Regions from separate parts of the Homo sapiens genome. Here regions 2 and 3 are each linked to region 1. Evidence: promoter capture Hi-C in 16 types of primary human blood cells and fetal thymus (Javierre and others, 2016). All regions are on one chromosome and are shown on one strand. The core of a region is centred on a gene start or on the middle of the fragment in contact, and the rest is flanking DNA. Distances in the headings are between cores, read along the strand shown. Region 1 holds the start of MYO18B (myosin XVIIIB). Region 2 has its middle 14 kb from the start of MIR6817. Region 3 overlaps LOC124905094 (a long non-coding RNA gene).

Region 1 (2,777 bases), core at 150-2,649:
CCTTTTCTTTTGGCCTTTTCCTTTGCTATTATTCTTCTCCTCCTTCTTCTCTTTCTCCTCCTGCTTTTTTCCTCCTCCTCCTTCTCTTCTTCTCCTTCTCCTCCTCCTCTTCCTTCTTTTCTCTCTCTCCTCTCCACTATTATTTTCTAGAACTCATCCATAGCCTAAGAGTATATAGACCCCTCTCTTTTCTGCTCCCAAGGTACACACTGGACATGGTACCCAGGCATAGGAGAATACAACTTAGGTCAGCAATGGATACAGCACCCAAGGCCACCATTATCCTTGTTGGAGTCTAGAAGCCCTAGTGGGACACTCAGCCTCCATGAGCTGGTGCACTGAATGAGGCAGCATCTTTTTGGACAGCCACAAAGTGAAAGTAACAGCCTCGTCGTATTCCAGGCCCTACAGGATAGAAGCCCAGATCCCCACACTTGCGGGTTGAGGCCAGACTGGACAGCTTGGAGCCGACTGGGAGCCGACTGGGCTCCCCATTCCGGGCCTCCCCACTCCTGGCCTCCTCCATGGAAAAGCTGCAGGAAGGCAGCAGCCCAGAGGCCTGTAGCTGGTGAGGTCTTCTCCTCTCCTGGGAGAGAGCTCCATGTCAAAGCATAGCCCCCTTCTGCCCCACTATGGGGCCACTGGGACCTGTGAATCTTCTTCATTCAGAGAAATGCCTGCTATCCGGGGTGCCAGATAAGACACCTTCCCTCAGACAGAGCTCAAGGAAGGTGGCATGAAATTGAAACCTTCAGCCATGAACTTCCATTGCCCTTCCCCCAACACTCATACATGCTTAATTTGCAGTTTAAAAAAGAACATTAAAATTAACATTTCGACTCAACAGCGTTGTTAACACGAAAGGGGAAGCCTGGCTCTTCCCCGACCATAACTGAACACCAGTGAAGCAGAAATTACTGGTAGTTGAGGAAAAATATAAACCCTGACGTCTGCGGGCAAAGATTCACAGTGGAGATTAACTCATGATTCTAAACACATTTTTAAAAATTATTAGCGAACAGCTGGGGCCTGAGGAGAGTGATTCTTACGAATGTCCATTTGCCCCAGCATTTTGTTCTCAAATCCTTCCACCGAAACACTCTTGTTTTCAAAGTGAGCAGCACGGGCAACAGGCAAAGGAATCAGGCCTCGGAAGCTCTCAACACCAGAAAGGCCTAAAATAGACCAAAAGACCGGAGGCCTGCCACCGCAGCCCCCAGCAGCGCATTCCGGAAAATTAAAACTCGCCGATCCGCTCGCAAGGTGCCCGTCTAAAACCCAGCCCAATAGTACCTTCTGCAAAGAGGACACAGATCACAGGAACCACGACTGTCTAAGACGTCTCCCCGGGTGGCCGCGAAGGGACCCCACCGAGCCGGGAAAGCAGGAGCGAAGGAGCACCCTCTCCACACACACCGACACACATCCCTTCCCCTTACTGCCCCTCCCCGACCCGTCCTCCCCCCACCCTCCTTCTGGGCCAATGTGATAGCAGCAGCTGAGTCGACCAGTCATTTCTAAAATTAGCTTGTGAGCTCCAGGTCTGGCCAGGAGACGGCAGCCCGGGGTGGCCGTTGACCAGGCAGCAGAGACCATGGACATATTTGGTGGCCCCTGAGCAGGGAAGGGGACAGCTCTGGACACAAGCACATGCTCTCTCGTCATCCCTGTCCCAGGGCAGGGCCACACACCCACACTCCCGCCTCTGCCCACACAGATAACCAGAGGTTGCAGGAACTGTTTGAGGAGGAGAGCTGGCCGGTTCTACATTCCAGGCAGACTCTGGAAGAAAATAACTTGAATGAATGCTGGTGCGTCGTGGTAAACAACCAGTGCATGTAAACATACCTTATGCTTAGGTAGTGGTTATCGCATGCCACACACCGAGGGCTTTCATGAACTCACTTAATGTTCCCTATGAGGTAGGGTTTTTCCCCAGCCCCACTTTACAAGTGGGGAAATTGAGACACAAAAAGTTAACCAACTTGCCCAAGGCCATGGAGAGCCAGAATTCAAACCCAGGCTGTGCGGGCCGTAGAGGAAACAGACACAACAGCAAACTAGGGGCTATAAAAAAGTGCTTTGGGCCTGGCACGGTGGCTCACGTCTGTAATCCCGGCACTTTGGGAAGCCGAGGTGGGCATATCACGAGGTCAGGAGATTGAGACCATCCTGGCTAACACAGTGAAACCCCGTCTCTACTAAAAATACAAAAACAAAATTAGCCGGGCGTGGTGGTGGGCGCCTGTAGTCCCAGCTACAGGCGGAGCTTGCAGTAAGCCGAGATCGCGCCACTGCACTCCAGCCTGGGTGACAGAGAGAGACTCCATCTCAAAAAAAAAAAAAAAAATCAGCTGGGTGGGGTAGTGGTTGTCTGTGATCCCAGCTACTTGGGAGGCTGAGGCAGGAGAATTGCTTGAACCCAGGAGGCGGAGGTTGCAATGAGCTAAGGTCACGCCACTGCACTCTAGCCTAGGCGATAAGAGACTCTATCTCAAAAAAACAACAACAAAAAAAGTGCTTTGTCCACTGCCTAAAAGGAGCAAAGTACAGACTTCAATAAATTGGATAAACCATGCAGGTCCATGCAGCTAGCAAAGGGTAGAGTCATGACTCAAATCCAAGTCTTTCTGGTTCCAAAGACCGCAATCAGCCCAGCATGATACTGCTCCTGTGAGAATTGTTTCAATAATTGCTATGTGGTGCTGCTCCTCTTTCCCCAGAGCTCATCGAGCAATATTTTCCCAAAGTACTCACTTCTGCCGAGGTCTTGAAAA
Region 2 (2,777 bases), core at 71-2,570, 300 kb after region 1:
TCTCAATGGTTTTTTATCACTGGATAATATTCCATTGATCAGTGTAACAAAGTTTGTTGGTACATTCGCCTACTGAAGAACATAAAGGTTGCTTTCAATGTGGGCAGTATGGATAAAGCTACCATAAACATTCCTGTGGACTTTTTAGTACAGACATAATTTTTTTTTTTTCTGAGACAGAGTGTTGCTCTGTCGCCCAGGCTGGAGTGCAGTGGTGCGATCTCAGCTCACTGCAACCAATGTCTCACAGGTTCAAGCAATTCTCCTGCCTCAGCCTCCCGAGTAGGGAGGCCCAGCCCATACATAATTGTTTAATTAAACTGGGTAAATACTTAGGATTGTGATCACTTACTTATATGATAAGACTACATAAGAATTTGGTAGGGTTGCTGGGCACGGTGGCTCATGCCTTTAATCCCAGCACTTTGGGAGGCTGAGGCAGGCAGATCACGTGAGGTCAGGAGTTCGAGACCAGACTGGCCAACATGGTGAAACCCTGTCTCTACCAAAAATAAAAAAATTAGGCTGGGCGCGGTGGCTCATGCCTGTAATCCCAGCACTTTGGGAGGCTGAGGCGGGCGGATCACAAGGTCAGGAGATCAAGACCATCCTGGCTAATACAGTGAAACCCCGTCTCTACTAAAAATACAAAAAAAAATTAGCCAGACGTGGCGGCATGCGCCTGTAGTCCCAGCTGCTGGGGAGGCTGAAGCAGGAGAATGGCGTGAACCCAGGAGGTGGAGCTTGCAGTGAGCCGAGATCGCGCCACTGCACTCCAGCCTGGGCGACAGAGCGAGACTCCGTCTCAAAAAAAAAAAAATACAAAAATTAGCCAGGTGTGGTGGCATATGCCTGTAGTCCCAGCTACTCAGGAGGCAGAGGCAGGAGAATAACTTGAACCCAGGTGGTGGAGGCTGCAGTGAGCCAACACTGTGCCACTGCACTCCAGCCTGAGCAACATGGCAAGACTCCATCTCCAAAAAAAAAAAAAAGAATTTGGTAGGATTTACCAGTAAAACCATCTAAGCCTGGTGCTTTTTTTTTTTTTGGAAAAGTTACTGATTGATTCAATGTCTAAAATTGATACAGGTTTATTCAGTTTATCAATTTCTCCTTGGTGAGTTTTATAGTTTCTGCCTTTGAAGGAATCGGTTCCTAAGCTTATCACATTTCTGGGCATAGATTTTCTCAAAGTATTCCCTCATGGTCTTCTCAATGCCCATAGAATCACAAATGATGACCTCTCCTTTAGTTATTAGTACATTATGACTTCCTTTCTTCATGGTTAGCCTGCCTGGAGGTTTATTGATTTTTTTTTTTATCTATTCATAGAAACAGCTGTTGGTTTTGATAACTTTCTCTGTTGATTTTTGATTTTTCATTCCATTGATTTCTGCAGTAATTATTGCTTTTGCTATTCTTCTGTCTGCTTTCTATAACACTGCTCTGTTTTGTCTGGTTTTCTAATGTGAAAGCTTAGGTTATTGACTTTAGGTCTTTCTTATTTTCTATCACATGGCATTCAGTTATAAATTTCCCTCCGAGCCCTGCTTTGACTGCATCCCACAGATCTTGACAAGGTACATTTTTATTTCATTTTGTTTAAAATATTTTTTCAGCTGTGTGTGGTGGCTCATGCCTGTAATCCAACACTTTGGGAGGCCGAGGTGGGCAGATCACAAGGTCAGGAGATTGAGACCATCCTGGCTAACACCGTGAAACCCCATCTCTACTAAAAAATACAAAAAATTGCCTGGCATGGTGGCTCACGCCTGTAATCCAGCACTTTGGGAGGCTGAGGTGGGCGGATCACTTGAGGTCAGGAGTTCGAGACCAGCCTAGCCAACATGGTGAAACACTGTCTCTACTAAAAATACAAAAATTAGCCGGGTGTGGTGGTGTGCACCTGTAGACCCAGCTACTCGGGAGGGTGAAGTGGGAGAATCGCTTTGAACCTGGGAGGCGGACATTGCAGTGAGCTGACATTGCACCGCTGCACTCCAGCCTGGGTGACAAGAGTGAAACTCCATCTCAAAAAATATATATGTATTTTTACAACTTCATTGAGGCATCTTCTTTGATCCATGTGTTTTGCAGAGTACATGATTTAATGTCCAAATATTTGGAGGTTTTCCATTTATCTTTCTATTACTGAATTCTAGTCTAATTTTGTAATGCTATGAAAGCATATTTTAGAAATTTCATTCATTTAAATAAGTTGTGGTATTATTTTATGGCCCACAATGTTGCCTTTTTTTTTTTTTTTTTTTTTTTTTTTAGAGGAGTCTTGCTCTGCTGCCAGGCTGGAGTGCAATGGTGCAATCTTGGCTCACCACAACCTCCTTCTCCTGGGTTCAAGTGATTCTCCTGCCTCAGCCTCCCAAGTAGCTGGGATTATAGGCATGTGCCACCAGGCCTAGCTAATTTTATATTTTTGGTAGAGAGGAGGTTTCTCCATGTTGGTCAGGCTGGTCTCGAACTCCCGACCTCAGGTGATCCGCCCGGCTCGGCCTCCCAAAGTGCCGGGATTACAGGCATGAGCCACCAGGCCCAGTGGTCTGTCTTTTTAAATCTCTGTTCTTGGCCAGGCACGGTGGCTCACGCCTGTATTCCCAGCACTTTGGGAGGCTGAGGTCGGCAGATCACAAGGTCAGGAGATTGAGATCATCCTGGCTAACACGGTGAAACCCCGTCTCTACTAAAACATATAAAAAAATTAGCCAGGTCTGGTGGCAGGCACCTGTAGTCCCAGCTACTTGGGAGGCTGAGGCAGGAGA
Region 3 (2,777 bases), core at 178-2,677, 260 kb after region 1:
ATGTTTCTTAACAACTATAGTTTCCATGGGTATTTTTGGTTCTCTAATCTTGGTAAATTGTTGGGATTTTGCTGGTTCTCTGGGTAGAAGACAAAGCTGCTTCCATCCAAGCCTCGCTTGTTATGATGGGCCTTGCTATGGCAGCAGTGAGTTGGCAGAATACTTAGACACAGCATTCGTATCTATTGCTGCAAGCAAATCTACCCCAGAACTTGGCAACTTAAAACAATAAACAGTTGTTGTCTCACAGTTCCTGCGGGTCAGAAATTCAGGAGCAACTTTAGTCTGAGCAGTTCTGACTCTGGGTCTCTCATCAGGTTGCAGTCAGGATGTCAGCTGCAGCTGCAGTCTCATCTGAAGACTGAACTGGGGCTGGAGGAGCTGCTTCCAAGATAGGCCACTCACACAGCTGCTGGCTGGAGATCACAGGTCCTCACCACATGGGTCTCTCCACTGGGCTGCTTGAATATCCCCACGACATGGCAGCTGGCTTCCCTAGAGTGGGTGATCCTCAAGAGAGCGAGGAGGGAGCCACAATGTCTTTTATGACCTTGCCTTGGAAGTTGCACACCATCACTTCCACTTTGTTCTATTCATTAAAAGGGAGTCAGTAAGGCTAGCCCACACTCAAGAGATGTAGAATTAGGCTCCATCTTTTGAAGGAATTATCAAAGACTGTGTGAACATATTTTAAACCAGCACAGACAATATGATATAATGCAAAACTTGCCTCCAATTCTTTACCCTTCTTTGTATTCTCACCCTTGCCAAGCGACTTTGCAGTTCCTCCCGTTAAAAGAACAGAGTACCATTTCCCACCTATTGACCCTGGGTTTGGCCCTGTGACTTGCTAGGGTCAATAGAATGAGGCAGGAGTGACTCTGTGTGGTCCTGAGTCTAGGCCTCAAGAGACTTTGTGTGTTTCTGCTCACCCCCTTGCACTCCTGCCATGAGCAGGAGGGGAATATGCCAAGGCTAGTCCACTGATCCCAGGACAGGATGAGAGACACATGGATGAGCACACAGCTGCCCAGCTGAGCCCAGCCTGGCTCAGCCAACCCACATTAGACATGCGAGCTAAATCAACACTTACTGTCCTACAGCACAGAGATTTGGGGGATTGTTTGTTACACAGCATTACCATCACCACACTTAACTGACAGAGGCATGTGGGCTTGAAAGTCAGCCAGTCTTGGCTTCAAGTGTCAGCTCCCCCACTCTTCAGCCACGTGACCCTGGACAAAGCACTTCACTTCCCTGAGCCCCCAGCGACCTCATCTGTAAAATGGGTATCATGACATCACCTCTCTCATAGAGGCTTTGTGATGATTAAGATCATGCCAGTAAAGTGCTTTGAGCACCATCCTGCCCCATTGTGATTATTAGGAATGACACATCTGGGCCTATTGTCCCAATATTGATGTGCAGCCAACAGTAGGATTAATTCTCTAGCTCAGACACCTGCTATAGCTCCCTAGTTCCAGGTTCTCCAGTGTGGTCTCCCAAGGCTCCCTTCCCCCTCTCATGCTCACTGACCACTCACCCTCAGTCTCTTACCAGCCAGGACAGGCAGCTGATGAACATCTTGGACCCAGAGCTCCAGCCCCACACACCCGTGACCTTCCCTCCACACCAGGCCACCTCGTTGTCCCTGCTCAGCTCCTATGAGACTGTGGGACAGTCTCTAACCTCCCTGGGCAACTCATGTAGGGGTGGATGGCACAGGCTATTGAGTCAGCCACACTGGGCTCTGAATTCTGCCTTCACCACTTACCAGCTGGGTGACTTTCGGAAGTGATTGTACCTCTCTAGACTTCTGTTTACTCACCTGCAAAATGAGGGTCATTATAATACTTAGTTTATCAGGTAGTTGTGGGGATTTGATACTATCAGACATATAAAATCATTCTCCTATGCCAGGCACGTTTAAAGTGTAAGTACTGGTAGTTAGCTAACATTTACTACAACTAACAATAATGTCTCCATCTGTGAATGAAGGGGCTGGATTTGTCTAAAGTTTCTTTGGACACTGACGTTGGAAGCATAAGCTGAAGGGTTTCTGTGTGTGGGAGTACAAGGAGAAGAGTCCCCATGGACAGAATTCCAGGTTGTCACTTCCAACACTATTATCTGCTTTACATACTGGGATGCTTTATGTGAGGTTATCCAGGAAACAATTTCTTTGCTTAAAAAAAAAAAAGTTTGGGGCCAGGTGCGGTGGCTCATGACTGTAATCCCAGCACTTTGGGAGGCTAATAGGGGCAGATCACCTGAGGTCAGGAGTTCGAGACCAGCTTGACCAACATGGTGAAACCCCATCCGTCTCTACTAAAAATACAAAATTAGCAGGGCGTGGTGGCACATGCCTGTAATCCTAGCTACTTGGGAGGCTGAGACAGGAGAATCACTTGAACCTGAGAGGCAGAGGTTGTGGTGAACCAAGATTACACCATTGCACTCCAGCCTGGGCAACGAGAGCTAAACTCCATCTCAAAAAAAAAAAAAAGAAAAAAAGTTTGGAAACCACTGGATCAAGTGGTCTTTAAGGGCCTTCCCGGCTTTCCCTTTTGGGATTTCACTGCAAGAAGCCAACTAAAGGCTGAGCAGTGGGTACAAGGGGCTGCAGCGCTTAAGTTCAGCCTCTAGAAACTTCAAGGGCCAAGCAAAAGTCATTCCCTGGCTCCAGGCGTGGTGCAGTGCCTCTATGATCGCCACCCCCCGGAACACCCACTCTCTGATGGCTTCTGTCCTCCAGACCTCGCCATGCTCTGTTTCCT

What was found. Contacts are between HindIII fragments. The CHiCAGO score rates a contact against its expected background, and 5 or more counts as called.
Region 2: a fragment that was not itself captured here is called in contact with the fragment with the promoter of MYO18B in region 1 in 1 of 17 cell types (fetal thymus); the score reaches 5.6 in fetal thymus.
Region 3: a fragment that was not itself captured here is called in contact with the fragment with the promoter of MYO18B in region 1 in 1 of 17 cell types (total B cells); the score reaches 5.3 in total B cells.

What each region holds. Positions count from the first base shown.
Region 1 is chr22:25,740,810-25,743,586 of GRCh38, reverse strand. MYO18B (myosin XVIIIB) reads right to left here and starts at 1,399. Exons shown (of 44, transcript NM_032608.7): 1 at 1,294-1,399. The HindIII fragment of the contact is 14,245 bases long and covers 1-2,777 here.
Region 2 is chr22:25,440,516-25,443,292 of GRCh38, reverse strand. No RefSeq gene overlaps it. Among named protein-coding and RNA genes, the nearest start is that of MIR6817, 14 kb to the left of the region's middle. The HindIII fragment of the contact is 315 bases long and covers 1,163-1,477 here.
Region 3 is chr22:25,475,921-25,478,697 of GRCh38, reverse strand. LOC124905094 (a long non-coding RNA gene) reads right to left here. Exons shown (of 2, transcript XR_007068036.1): 1 at 1,094-2,777; 2 at 1-510. Among named protein-coding and RNA genes, the nearest start is that of MIR6817, 22 kb to the right of the region's middle. The HindIII fragment of the contact is 3,329 bases long and covers 1-2,777 here.